Regions from separate parts of the Homo sapiens genome. Here regions 2, 3 and 4 are each linked to region 1. Evidence: promoter capture Hi-C in 16 types of primary human blood cells and fetal thymus (Javierre and others, 2016). All regions are on one chromosome and are shown on one strand. The core of a region is centred on a gene start or on the middle of the fragment in contact, and the rest is flanking DNA. Distances in the headings are between cores, read along the strand shown.

What was found. The method cuts DNA at HindIII sites, captures the fragments that hold promoters and counts their contacts. A CHiCAGO score of 5 or more calls a contact.
Region 2: a contact is called between a fragment that was not itself captured here and the fragment with the promoter of BACH2 in region 1, in 1 of 17 cell types (fetal thymus). The highest score is 6.9, in fetal thymus.
Region 3: the fragment with the promoter of RRAGD here is called in contact with the fragment with the promoter of BACH2 in region 1 in 1 of 17 cell types (fetal thymus); the score reaches 9.5 in fetal thymus.
Region 4: a fragment that was not itself captured here is called in contact with the fragment with the promoter of BACH2 in region 1 in 1 of 17 cell types (fetal thymus); the score reaches 6.7 in fetal thymus.

What each region holds. Positions count from the first base shown.
Region 1 is chr6:90,295,426-90,298,125 of GRCh38, forward strand. It overlaps BACH2 (BACH transcriptional regulator 2), which reads right to left and starts at 1,418. Exons shown (of 9, transcript NM_021813.4): 1 at 1,055-1,418. It overlaps LOC105377891 (a long non-coding RNA gene), which reads left to right and starts at 1,814. Exons shown (of 7, transcript XR_942778.4): 1 at 1,814-2,311. RefSeq lists silencers at 597-656, 1,282-1,331. The HindIII fragment of the contact is 2,083 bases long and covers 199-2,281 here.
Region 2 is chr6:89,376,171-89,378,870 of GRCh38, forward strand. It overlaps RRAGD (Ras related GTP binding D), which reads right to left. Exons shown (of 7, transcript NM_021244.5): 5 at 1,501-1,643. Among named protein-coding and RNA genes, the nearest start is that of UBE2J1, 25 kb to the left of the region's middle. The HindIII fragment of the contact is 1,953 bases long and covers 326-2,278 here.
Region 3 is chr6:89,410,843-89,413,542 of GRCh38, forward strand. It overlaps RRAGD (Ras related GTP binding D), which reads right to left and starts at 1,431. Exons shown (of 7, transcript NM_021244.5): 1 at 1,004-1,431. The coding sequence starts at 1,151. RefSeq lists silencers at 388-487, 518-627, 658-1,847. The HindIII fragment of the contact is 2,415 bases long and covers 1-2,330 here.
Region 4 is chr6:89,357,970-89,360,669 of GRCh38, forward strand. No RefSeq gene overlaps it. Among named protein-coding and RNA genes, the nearest start is that of UBE2J1, 6.6 kb to the left of the region's middle. The HindIII fragment of the contact is 6,763 bases long and covers 1-2,700 here.

The DNA.
Region 1 (2,700 bases), core at 168-2,667:
GAGGTCGCCGAGATGCTCGCTCCAGTCTCTCCCCTCGTGGGCACCTAGGGTAGCCCGTGAGCGCCGCCCGCCGCCGTCTCCAGCGGCGCCGGGCTCCCGAACACCCGCCGGGTGAGCGAAGCACAGCGGGGCCACGGAGCGCCTCGACGCGGGGACGGGGAGGGCAGTGTCCCCTTCATAAACCAGTCTCCTGGGTGAAGCTTCTGGGGCTTGGAGACTGGAGTGTAGGGTGTGTGTGTGTGTGTGTGTGTGTGTGTGTTGCACCTTGACTTCATGGAGGATCTGTGGGAGAGGAGGTGCAAGGTTTCCCTCTCAGAAGCCTGGCGCCCTTAGGTCTTAGCTACGCGGGACGCTTTCCGACAACCCGATCTTTCGCTAGGAGAGATTCGATCCAGGTCTGCGCCGCGAGGCCCCCAGCTCGCCTCTTCCTGCGACCCTAAACTTGGGCTTTGATTCCCCGCCGGTCGCGGTGGTCCGGGCCACCCGGCGGCGGCTGACAGCTGAGCGCAAAGGCGCCGCGGCCAAGGTCCTCGCGGAGCAGCCCGGGATGCGCACGCCGAGGGTTAAGGAGGAGGCCGCCCGGCCTGGAGCTGGGATCGCAGGCTGGGGGCCGGGACACCCGGGCCTCGCCGGGCCGGGGGCAGGGCCGCGGGTCTGACAGCTGCTGCGGCTCGCGCGGACGCGCGCCTCCTGCAGCCCGCCCTCCCCATGCCTGACTTATTACTCTCTGCTCCTCCTCCCTCTGCTGTTCCAAAACACCCTTCGACGCCAGCAAAATACAATGCGCCTCGGCCGCCGTAAACAGCCGGGAGGGAGAGCACACATTCGGCGCGGCGCGGCCGCCGGCTCGGCTCCCACCCCCTTCCCGTTCCTAGAAAATGCCATAAAAGCGGGCAGGGCGCGGGGAGGGCGGCTGCGCGCCCGGCGGCCGGGGCTCCCTTCCCGCGCCGTTTCCCCACGCCTCCCCGCCCGCCCCGCGCGCCCGCTCCCCCCGCAAACTTGCCCCGCCACCCCGCCCAGCGGCGGGGCCCGGGGCCCGGGGCCCGGGACTCACCTCGCCGGAGAACTTTGCGTCCTTTTCCGCCTCCTCTTCCCCGCGTCTTCCCGGCTCGCAGCCCCCTCCCGGCAGCCGGCGAGGTGGGCAGTTCGTGGGTCACCGAAAGCTCGCGGAGGGGACGCGCATCACATGGCAGCTCGTTCCCAGCCCCCCGAGTGCGCCGGGAAGGGGGAGGGGAAGGGGCGAGGGGAGGCCGGGGGGAAAGCGAGAGCGGGGCGGCGGCGGGAGTGGGCAGGCGGGGTGGCGAGGGCGGCGGCCGCTCACGTTAGCGCTGTGCGACCGCAGCCCGGGCGTGCACGGCCGCTGCTGCCGCTGCTGCTGCTGCTGCTGCTGCTGAGGCGGCGGCGGCTCGGCGCTGTTTGCTCCGCGCCGCGCGGCTTGCGCTCTCCCCGGAACGCCCACACTCTCAATCGCTACATTGTTGACATTCGGCGCTGACGTCACCCGCTCCCCATTCACAATAACTTTACGGGAGCCGGGCAGCGCACCTCCCCGGCCGCTGGGGCGCGGTACGCCCGGCGACTAGCGTAAGCCGCTCCGCGAATGGCGCTCCGGGGGCTGGGGCGGGGGGCGGGGGACGGGGGCGGGCGCGCGCGCTCCGCTGGCTCGCGGGAGGGGGCGCGCCTCATGCCGCCGCAGCAGCAGATCTCCCCGCTTTGTGCGGCCGCGCGGCCCGGAGAGCCCCCTCCTCCCGGCCCGGCTGACCGCCCCGCTCGGCCTGGCCTTCCCGGCCACGAAAGACGAGGGTTGGGGGCATAGCAGGGTGAGAGTAGTGGTGAGGGCTGGTGTGGCACGTGGGGAGGGGGCCAGAGCCCTAGGTGCTGCACCTGGGGAAGGAGAGCAGACGTCGGGACCGGGGATCCCAGGGTTAGCTAGCGTTTTCCCGGAAGGGCAAGAAAAGATGCTCCACTGGCCCCCACAAAGCTGACCGGACTCCCTTTTGGGTGGGGACCGGGCGAGTAAAAGCAGCCTTTTGAATGTTGACTTCTCAATCCTTTTCAGGAGGCCCTCCGCCTGCCCTACTGAGCGAACCTTTAAGCCCCCAAGCCAGTGTTTTTGGAAAGAGAGTGGTCAATTTCAGGAGGACATTAAAAGCCAACCTCCCGGGCTTCAGCCCCAGCTCCTACTGCCTTCCAGCCACTCTCCCCTGCCTTTCCTTTCTGCGGCTCTTAGGATGTTGTTGCTGCCCTTAAAGGCCGTCGTGTGAGTGCCCTGTCAGAAGAAAGCTTGGTGGTGGTTAGGATTTTACAGAAGGTAATTAGGATTTAGGCTGAATGTACATTTGCAATAAAATAAGGTTGTGTTAGTGTTGTGCTGGTGCCTGCAACTTTACCTCTTGCCAAGGCCAGAAAATTCTGCCACGTTTCCCTAAACACCTATAACTTGGCCCTCTTGTGTACAGGCAGTATTCCATATTATTACACGTGGTGCTGATTTTTAATGAATATTATAAAAGTTTGGCTCGCTCTACTGAGAGAAGGATCATAAATCCCCCCTGTAAAACGGGCACTGGCGTATGCTGAGGAAGCAGTGAAGCGTCCTGGGAGTCTTGTGATATCATCTAAAGTGTTGCTCTGAACTACCTTCATTTGAGGGCAGAGTTTTGAAAGGCCCCATTTGGAATGTCTGTGTGGAAAGCTAAG
Region 2 (2,700 bases), core at 52-2,551, 920 kb before region 1:
AATTATAACAGTAATAATAAATTATGGCAGCTACATTTATCCAGAGTCTACCAGGTAAAGGCACGTTATGAGCCTAATGATATTTCATCCTCAATACAATCTTGTAAGTATCACTTTCCATGTGTGTGTGGTGTGTGTGTGTGTGTGTGTGTGTGTGTGTGTGTGTGTCTAACAGTTAACAGAGAGAATCCGAGCTGAGTGGGCAAAGGATTTTTAAGCAATGGAAGAGAAAAATGGAGACTAGACTCTCACAAAAGCTGAAAGGCAGAGCGTCAAGCTGTGTAAGGCAGGTCACAGGCAGTGAGTAAAGAGGAAGATGAGCAAAAGCTTTACCTCATCGATTAGATGAGGATGTCAGATACAATACAGATAGCAACACCTTAACATCTTAATAAGATGAACAACTAGTTCACACCTAGTCAGTCTGTACACCACCTGTTCAGCACATTTATAATTATGTAGAATTGTTTCTACATCGGGTAACATAATCAGTTTCCCCCACTCCTTGTTTATTTTATATTAAGTGTATAGGAAGCTCTGTTTTCTAAGAACGGTATGTTAACAGATTTTTTTCAGCAGAGGATCAGGAATCAGATCTGAGTTGAAACTCCAGTTCCAATCCTTACTGATAGTGTGAGCAAGAGTAAGAAATGTAACCACTCTGAACCTCAGTTTTTTCATCTGTAAAGTGAATACACTACAGTTGACCTTAAACAACACAGATTTGAACTGCCTAGGTCCACTTATACATGGATTTTCTTCCGCTTCTGCCACTCCTAAGACAGCAAAATCAACCCCTTCTCTTCCTCCTCCTCAGCCTACTCAATGTGAAGACAATGAGGGTAAAGACCTTTATGATGACCCACTTCCATTTAATAAATAGTAAATATATTCTTTCTTATAATTTCTTCTCTGTAGCTCACTTTATTGTTAAGAATACAGTGCGTAATACATAACATACAAAATGTGTGTTAATCAATCATTCATGTTATTGGTAAGGCTTCCAGTCAACAGTAGACTATTAGTATTAATAGTTAAGTTTGTCAGGGGGGAAATATATGTGGCTTTTTGACTGTTCAAAGGGTTGGTACCCCAACCCCTGTGTTGTTCAAGGGTCAAATGTAATTCCTGCCACATCGAATAGTTGAGAATTAAATGATAACCTGGGCACAGTGGCTCATGCCTATAATCCCAGCTACTCGAGAGGCTGAGGTGAGAGGATCATTTGAGCCCAGGAGTGATCTATCCTGGACAACACAGGGACACCCTATTGCTAAAAAATTGAAATAAATAATAGGAAGCATGCAATGAGATTAGCATAATGCGTGGCATTTGCTCAATAACTGTTATTATTGCATGCTAACTGGTATATTTATTTATAGATTTCAGTCATTTAAGACAAAAATGTTAAAGTTAAGTAAGTAAATGTAAATGCAAAATGCCTGAAAGGTTATGAAGGAAGGATGGCTTGATTGTGGCCTTTAAGAATGTTGTACTTACCCATAAATACAAGAGATGTCAATAACCACATCTATCATATCACAGCAGAGCTCATAGGTTTGCATATCCACCGGAGTACTATCAGTTGCAATATAAATTTTACTGACCACATCAAATAGAAATGCCTTTTCAATTCCAGAATTCTGAAATTTAAAAAAAAAAGTTGCCTTAAAGCAACAGTCAACTTCAGACCATGTCATGACTACACAAAATTGAATGCCATTCTTAATGTAAAATACAAAATGAGCAAAACTCGCTACTAAAAATTTAAATTGTATCATTTTATTACAATTTAAACTTCACTGTCATAAACTTCTCTATACTGGACTTGCATAAGAAATAAAAAGTAGAGGCCGGGCATGGTGGCTCACGCCTGTAATCCCAGCACTTTGGGAGGCCAAGGCGGGCAGATCACCTGAGGCCAGGAGTTCGAAACCAGCCTGACCAACCGGGAGAAACCTGTCTCTACTAAAAATACAAAATTAGCCAGGCGTGGTGGTGCATGCCTGTAATCCCAGCTACTCGGGAGGCTGAGGAAGGAGAACTGCTTGAACCCAGGAGGCGGAGGTAGCGGTGAGCCGAGATGGCGCCATTGCACTCCAGCCTGGGCAACAAGAGCAAAACTCCGTCTCAAAAAAAAAAAAAGAATTCGAATGACCACAAATTATTTATTTTAGGTAACCAAATTGAGCAATATTTCCTAACTCGTAGAGATACATACCTGCAATTAGGAAAAGGCCAAGTAAAAATACTTTTACTGACTGTAAATTTTAAAATAAGCTTAGAAACACTAAACAAACACACTCAAAATTGTGTAGTGACAGAGTAAACGTGAGTATAACCAATAGGTCTGCCTCAATTCAACTCAGCAGCGCCTACCTGGAGCTGGTGATGTGTAGGGTTCATTCAGCACATCACTCATAGCATGTTAAACTTATAAAAAGCTATTCAACAGTTTGCGTCTTATCAATAAAGCCAAGTTTTATGTTCCCTACCTCTGGTGGGGCTCTATTAATATTGAATGATTGCCTACAGGCTTGAATAAACCCTCCAATTATACCAGTGAAGTGCAGGAATGCATCTGAGTAGTTATATTTTATTTTTAGAGACAAGTTCTCGCTCTGATGCCCAGGCTGGAGTGCAGTGGCACAATCATGGCTCACTTTAGCCTCAAACTCCTGGGCTCAAGTAAGTACTCCT
Region 3 (2,700 bases), core at 181-2,680, 880 kb before region 1:
CTCTCACACAATTTCTTCAGTGTGAAACATTAAAGTTAGTTCCTTCTCTTGGATGCATACAGTTTCACTGAGAATAACATCATGTTTAACAGCCGCTTTCTATTGACCTTTCCAAGTGACCTTACAGTAAAGGAACTTTTGCTCGCTTCTGAGGGAAACTAAAAAAAGTTTAACCTCTCTGGAATACTAAAAGGCTCTCAACTTCCTTACACCTTAAGAAAATGCAGGAAGCCCCCACAAGCTGAACGATTGCTAAAACCCGCTTCTAGAACAGGAAAAAGAGTTTGCTTCACTATTGAAGCAAAGAATTCCCCGCCGCGCGCTCACTCCCGGGCAGGCACTGCCATGTCCAGGTGGTGATACCGAGAGCAGATAAGGTGTCCTGACAACGGTGTTTGCGTGGATCCCGGGAAATCTGCGGCCTCTCGGAGACTCCCACAACAGCTTGGCGAGCATCCCCCCGCCGCCCCGCGGGTCTCCCCAGCCACTACCTGGGTGGGCCCCTCCCGCGGCGACGCGGGGCGAGACTGACACCCGCAGCTGCCGACGACCCTGCCAGTCACGCCGCCGCCGGCTGCCTTTTTTTAGCCACGACATCTGACCCTGGCTTCAACAGCACCGTTCTGGGAGAGAGGTCCCAGGGCGCGCCCGCGGTCCCCTCCCCTCCCCAACCGCCAGACGCTGCGGAGAGCTTGGGGTGAGGGGCGCGGGAGGCACCGGCTCTGAAAGGGGCAGAAGCGCGCGCTCCTCCAGCCCAGACGCTTACTCCCTCCTTCCCCTTTTCCACCGATCCTGGTTGCCCCTCCGCCACCAGCACCGCGCTCCCTCATTTGGCAGCTCGAGGTCGGGCTTTTGGCGTCCCTCCCCACCCCAAACCCTCAACTGGACCCGCTCCCCTGGACCCCCTCCAAGTCGGTGGCTCGCGCACGGCCGGGCTGGGGGCGGGAAGGCGCCAAGGGGAGGAAAGGGGCGCGAGCCGAGGACGCGGGGGCCGGGCGCTCACCTCCCTCCTCTGTGCCGCTGTCCGGATCGGCGTCGGAGGAGTCGGGCCCGTCTCCGTAGTCCGCTAGCCCCACCAGCTCATCCTCCTCCTCCTCCTCCTCCGCGTCGTCCTCGTCCTGCGGCTGCGGCTTCCCCAGCACCTGGCTCATCGTGCCCACCGGCCGGCCGGCCCGGGGACGGCGGGGGTCCCGGGGTGGGGGCCAAGCCTCCTAGCCGGCCGCCCGCAGCCTATTTCTGAAGCGGAGGTTTGTCTAGAGCTCAGCGGGGCCCGGCGGAAGCGGGGGCCGCGCGTCCCCCGGCGGGCGGCGCCCAGGTCCGGGTCCCGCGGTTCCCAGCGCGCCCGAAGCCCCCTCCCCCGCCCCGCCCGCCGGCGGAGGAGTCAGCCGGAGCGCGGCAGTTCCTCCCGGAGGAGGGAGAGAGAGAGAGACTGCGTGACCCGAGTCACCTGACACACACTGTCACATACTCACATACACACCCCGCACGGGCGCGCGCGCGCTCGCCCGGCCGCGGGCACCACTCGGCGGGGCGCTGGGCCGAGGACACACATGCACACGCACACGCACACGCACGAGGAGACCGGGGAGGCGCGGGGCCCCTGCACCCTCCCAGACTCACACCGACACACGCCCCGTACACGGGGCCCCCGGGACGCCGGCCGTCACCCACCGCGGCTGCGCGCCAGGGGCCCCCACGCGCCTCTCCTTCACGTGGTCCCCGCACAGGCAGGGGAGGGGGCGCCGCACACCCTCAATGTCCCCCCCGCCGTCCCACTCCCACACGCCCGCAGAGCGTCTACCGTGGGCGGATGCCTCCTGCTTACAGTCCTGAGCTAGGGTCCCAAGCGGGTGGCCTCCCAACACTGTGGCGCCCAGATCCCCCACCCCAGAGCAGCGTGCCCAGGACACCCTGTGGACGCTCAAGAGCCCCAGGCGGAGAACTCAGATAAATGCACAGTGGAGGCGCAGTCTCCATAGCAATTGTCTTTTAGTGTGCCTTTATGGTTCAAAGTGCTTCCCACCAAGAATATTTAAAAAGCAGGCCTACCCAGACGTAAATGTTTCTGAAGAAATCACATGACTCGTGGCTGCTTAGACTAAATAATTCCTCTGCAGCCCTTTGGAAAAGGTCTCAGTGTATAACACACTCGGGGGCTATTCATGGCCACCTCCTCATGTCTCATTGTTGCATAGACTGTAATCCCACATGAATAAAATATTTCAAGGCTTTTGTGGGAGTAGGGGAGTGGCGGTGGTGGGGGGGCAATTCTCAAATAGGAATAGCAGCAACGTGGAGTGAGACTCTAAAACCTGCATTCCTCCTTCACAAGCTTTTCACCACGGAACACACTGTACCCACCCTTTCTGGGTACTGCAAAAAATTACGTGGATGAACTTCCTTCTGTGGAGCACAATAAGAAAAAACCGGCCGGTCAGCATGATGATCCAGCTCCTACAGGTGCCAGCAGCTCAGCCGGTGGTGCGGTGCAGAAGCGGAGGGAGGAAGCTAGGGCAGGAGACTCTCAGGGCCCAAGGGTGCTAACCTCCATAGGAAACATTTATTAACCACCTCCTATATGCCTGAGGCTGGGCTAAGTAGAGGGTCCAAGAATGCTCAGGGCAGTGTTCCTGCCCTGAAGGAGCTCACAGTCTACCAAATCATGACTCATGTCCTGGATTTTTTTTAGTATTTCTGAGT
Region 4 (2,700 bases), core at 61-2,560, 940 kb before region 1:
AATATTATTGTCTTCAGAACAATCAGTACTACACTGCTTCCCATTAAAACCCAAGTTACAATTATAGGCAAACTTTGAATGATAACCACATCGTCAACTTCTCAAAAGTAGTCCTGTACTTTTTTCAGCACTAACCAACCAGAAGGTATAGGTATGCCACAATTTGCCTTCTAGCATCTTGTGAGAAAATACTGGAGCCAGTTTAACTTCTTTGGGGAATTCAAGTTGGGTCTAGGTACAGATGCTGGCTGGGCGCGATGGCTCATACCTGTAATCCTAAAACTTTGGGAGGTGGAGGTGGAGGGGAGGATCGCTTGAGGCCAGAAATTCAAGACCAGCCTGGCTAACATGGTGAGACCCTGTCTCTATGCAAAAAAAGGGGGTGGGTACAGATGCTATTAAATAGTAATATATACCATATATGCAGAATGGAAAGCAAAATTTTTCCAAAAATATCATTCCTCAGAAAAGAGAGTCACCTTGTGTTTTTGTCTTTGTCCTTTTTGAACAAAATACTCTTCAGGAAGACAATATGTCGTGAAAGGGTCACAAGTAATGGCAATTTTCTGTCTTATAAAGGTCACCTAGCAAAATCAGGGGAAAAAAGGCAAAGACATATTGATTAATTATTCCTGAGGGTATGACTTTGGATAACAAGTATTGGAGATCATTAAGTAGGCTTTTAAATAATTATTGAACAGAGAAATACAAGAAGTACTTATTTATGGTGATTATGAATATGTAGGAAAAAAACCCTGATGTTTAACAAGTGGTTCTCGAGATGTAGTAAAATCTCCACTGACAGCATTCTACTCAATGTAAGGCATGCTCTACCTTAGATAACTAGGAGGGAACTGTTAGAGGACTCACAATGTTGTTTCAGTGATGATAGAGACCCAGTTGTAAACGATGCATGTGAAGTATTTGAATAAAATTGTTTGAGGAAAAACCAATTTTTCTAAATTAGTACCATTTGCATAATTTGTGCTATTAGATGTAAATGAGTATTTAAATACTGAATCAATAAATGGTTTAAATAGACTTAAAATTATTTACATTCACAAAAGTCTACATTTGAAATATAGGTTAAATAATATAAACTCTTAAAGCTGCATAATCAAGTTGGAAAAAATGCTAACACTTGGGGTGTTGATGTGTATGTAGGTATGGAGGATGCAAGAAAGCTCCCCTAGGTGATTGCAACCCTAATCCCCTACCATTTCCCCTCCCTATCCCTTTAAACAACTACAGAGAAAACAGTGTCTCACAAATTATAAGAATTGTTTAGGGTCCTTATTTAAAAATACAGATTTCTGTATTTCTCCCTGGAGATTCTGATTCAAGAAGACCGGGATGGGGCTGGGAATCTGCATCCTTAAGCACTCTAGATGATTCATAAAATCAGGTAACTTTGGAAAATATGGGCCTAGAGCATTAAATGAAACAGTACTATGTGTATTGGTGGCACCGTTTCTTGCACCTTATAAAGCTAAGTGAATTCCTTCCTCTCCTACGGAGATGGAAAGATACATAGGACTGTCTCCCGCAGTCACCCCCTTTACTGCACTGCTTCCCAGGGAAAAGAAACAAAAGCCTAATTACCAAGGCCACCTTATAAGCAGTCTGGGAGAAGGCCAGAATTAGTTCCAAGTTATTGGCTATCTAGGTGAGGAAAGTTGAGTACTATGGGGCTTAGCTCTCTGCAAAGCCAGAGGGGAGAAAACTGAGTAGCAGCCCTCTTAGGGACTTAGGCAATAATGAAAGCAGAAGGCAAACAAAAGCAGCTTGTAGGAATGGAATTCTCCACGTGGTGATGAGGGTTAGCATGGGACTGAGGTTTAAATTGCTCTATCATAGTTGGCCTTTCATGAGAGGGGGATTGGTTTCATGACTCTCAATTTTGGAAGAATAGAATAACCCTGCTGGCCCCAGGAGCTTATTAGGAAAGATTGAGGAAGCAAGATGGTCAAGGTCTCAGGCAGCTGGACACCAGTTAATGCCCCCACCCTCCTGAGTGTAGTCACTGGATCAGCTCCCTTTCAAAATAGCACAAAAGGGCAAACTCATGGATTCTTTTTTTTTTTTTTTTTTTTTTTGAGACGGAGTCTCGCTCTGTTGCCCAGGCTGGCGCCCAGTGGCGCGATCTCGGCTCACTGCAACCTCTGCTTCCCGGGTTCAAGCGAATCTCCTGCCTCAACCTCCTGAGTAGCTGGGATTATAGGTGCGTGCCACCACTCCTGGCTAATTTTTGTATTTTTAGTAGAGACGGGGTTTCACCATGTTGGTCAGGCTGGTCTTGAACTCCTGACTTTGTGATCCACCCGCCTCGGCCTCCCAAAGTGCTAGGATTACAGGCATGAACCACCACACCCAGCCAAACTCATGGATTCTTGATAACGGATAAGACCAATGTCATCTGAATTAACAAAGGACCCCTTAGGAGTCAGACATGAGCTCATGAGTCACTAAACTCCATGTAACGCTATCATATTATAGTCAAGGATAGAGTCTGTAATAAAAATGATCCTCTCAGGCCTACAACCCCATCAACCCTTCACCCGTAATACAACCCAGCATACAAAAATACCCAAGGATGGCAGTGAAAAGAAAAACCACTTTAGTAAACACTAGAAGGCCATGATCAAATGAAAGAAAAATTCAGGAACTTACTCAGAATTTCCCATTTGTTAAGATCTCTTA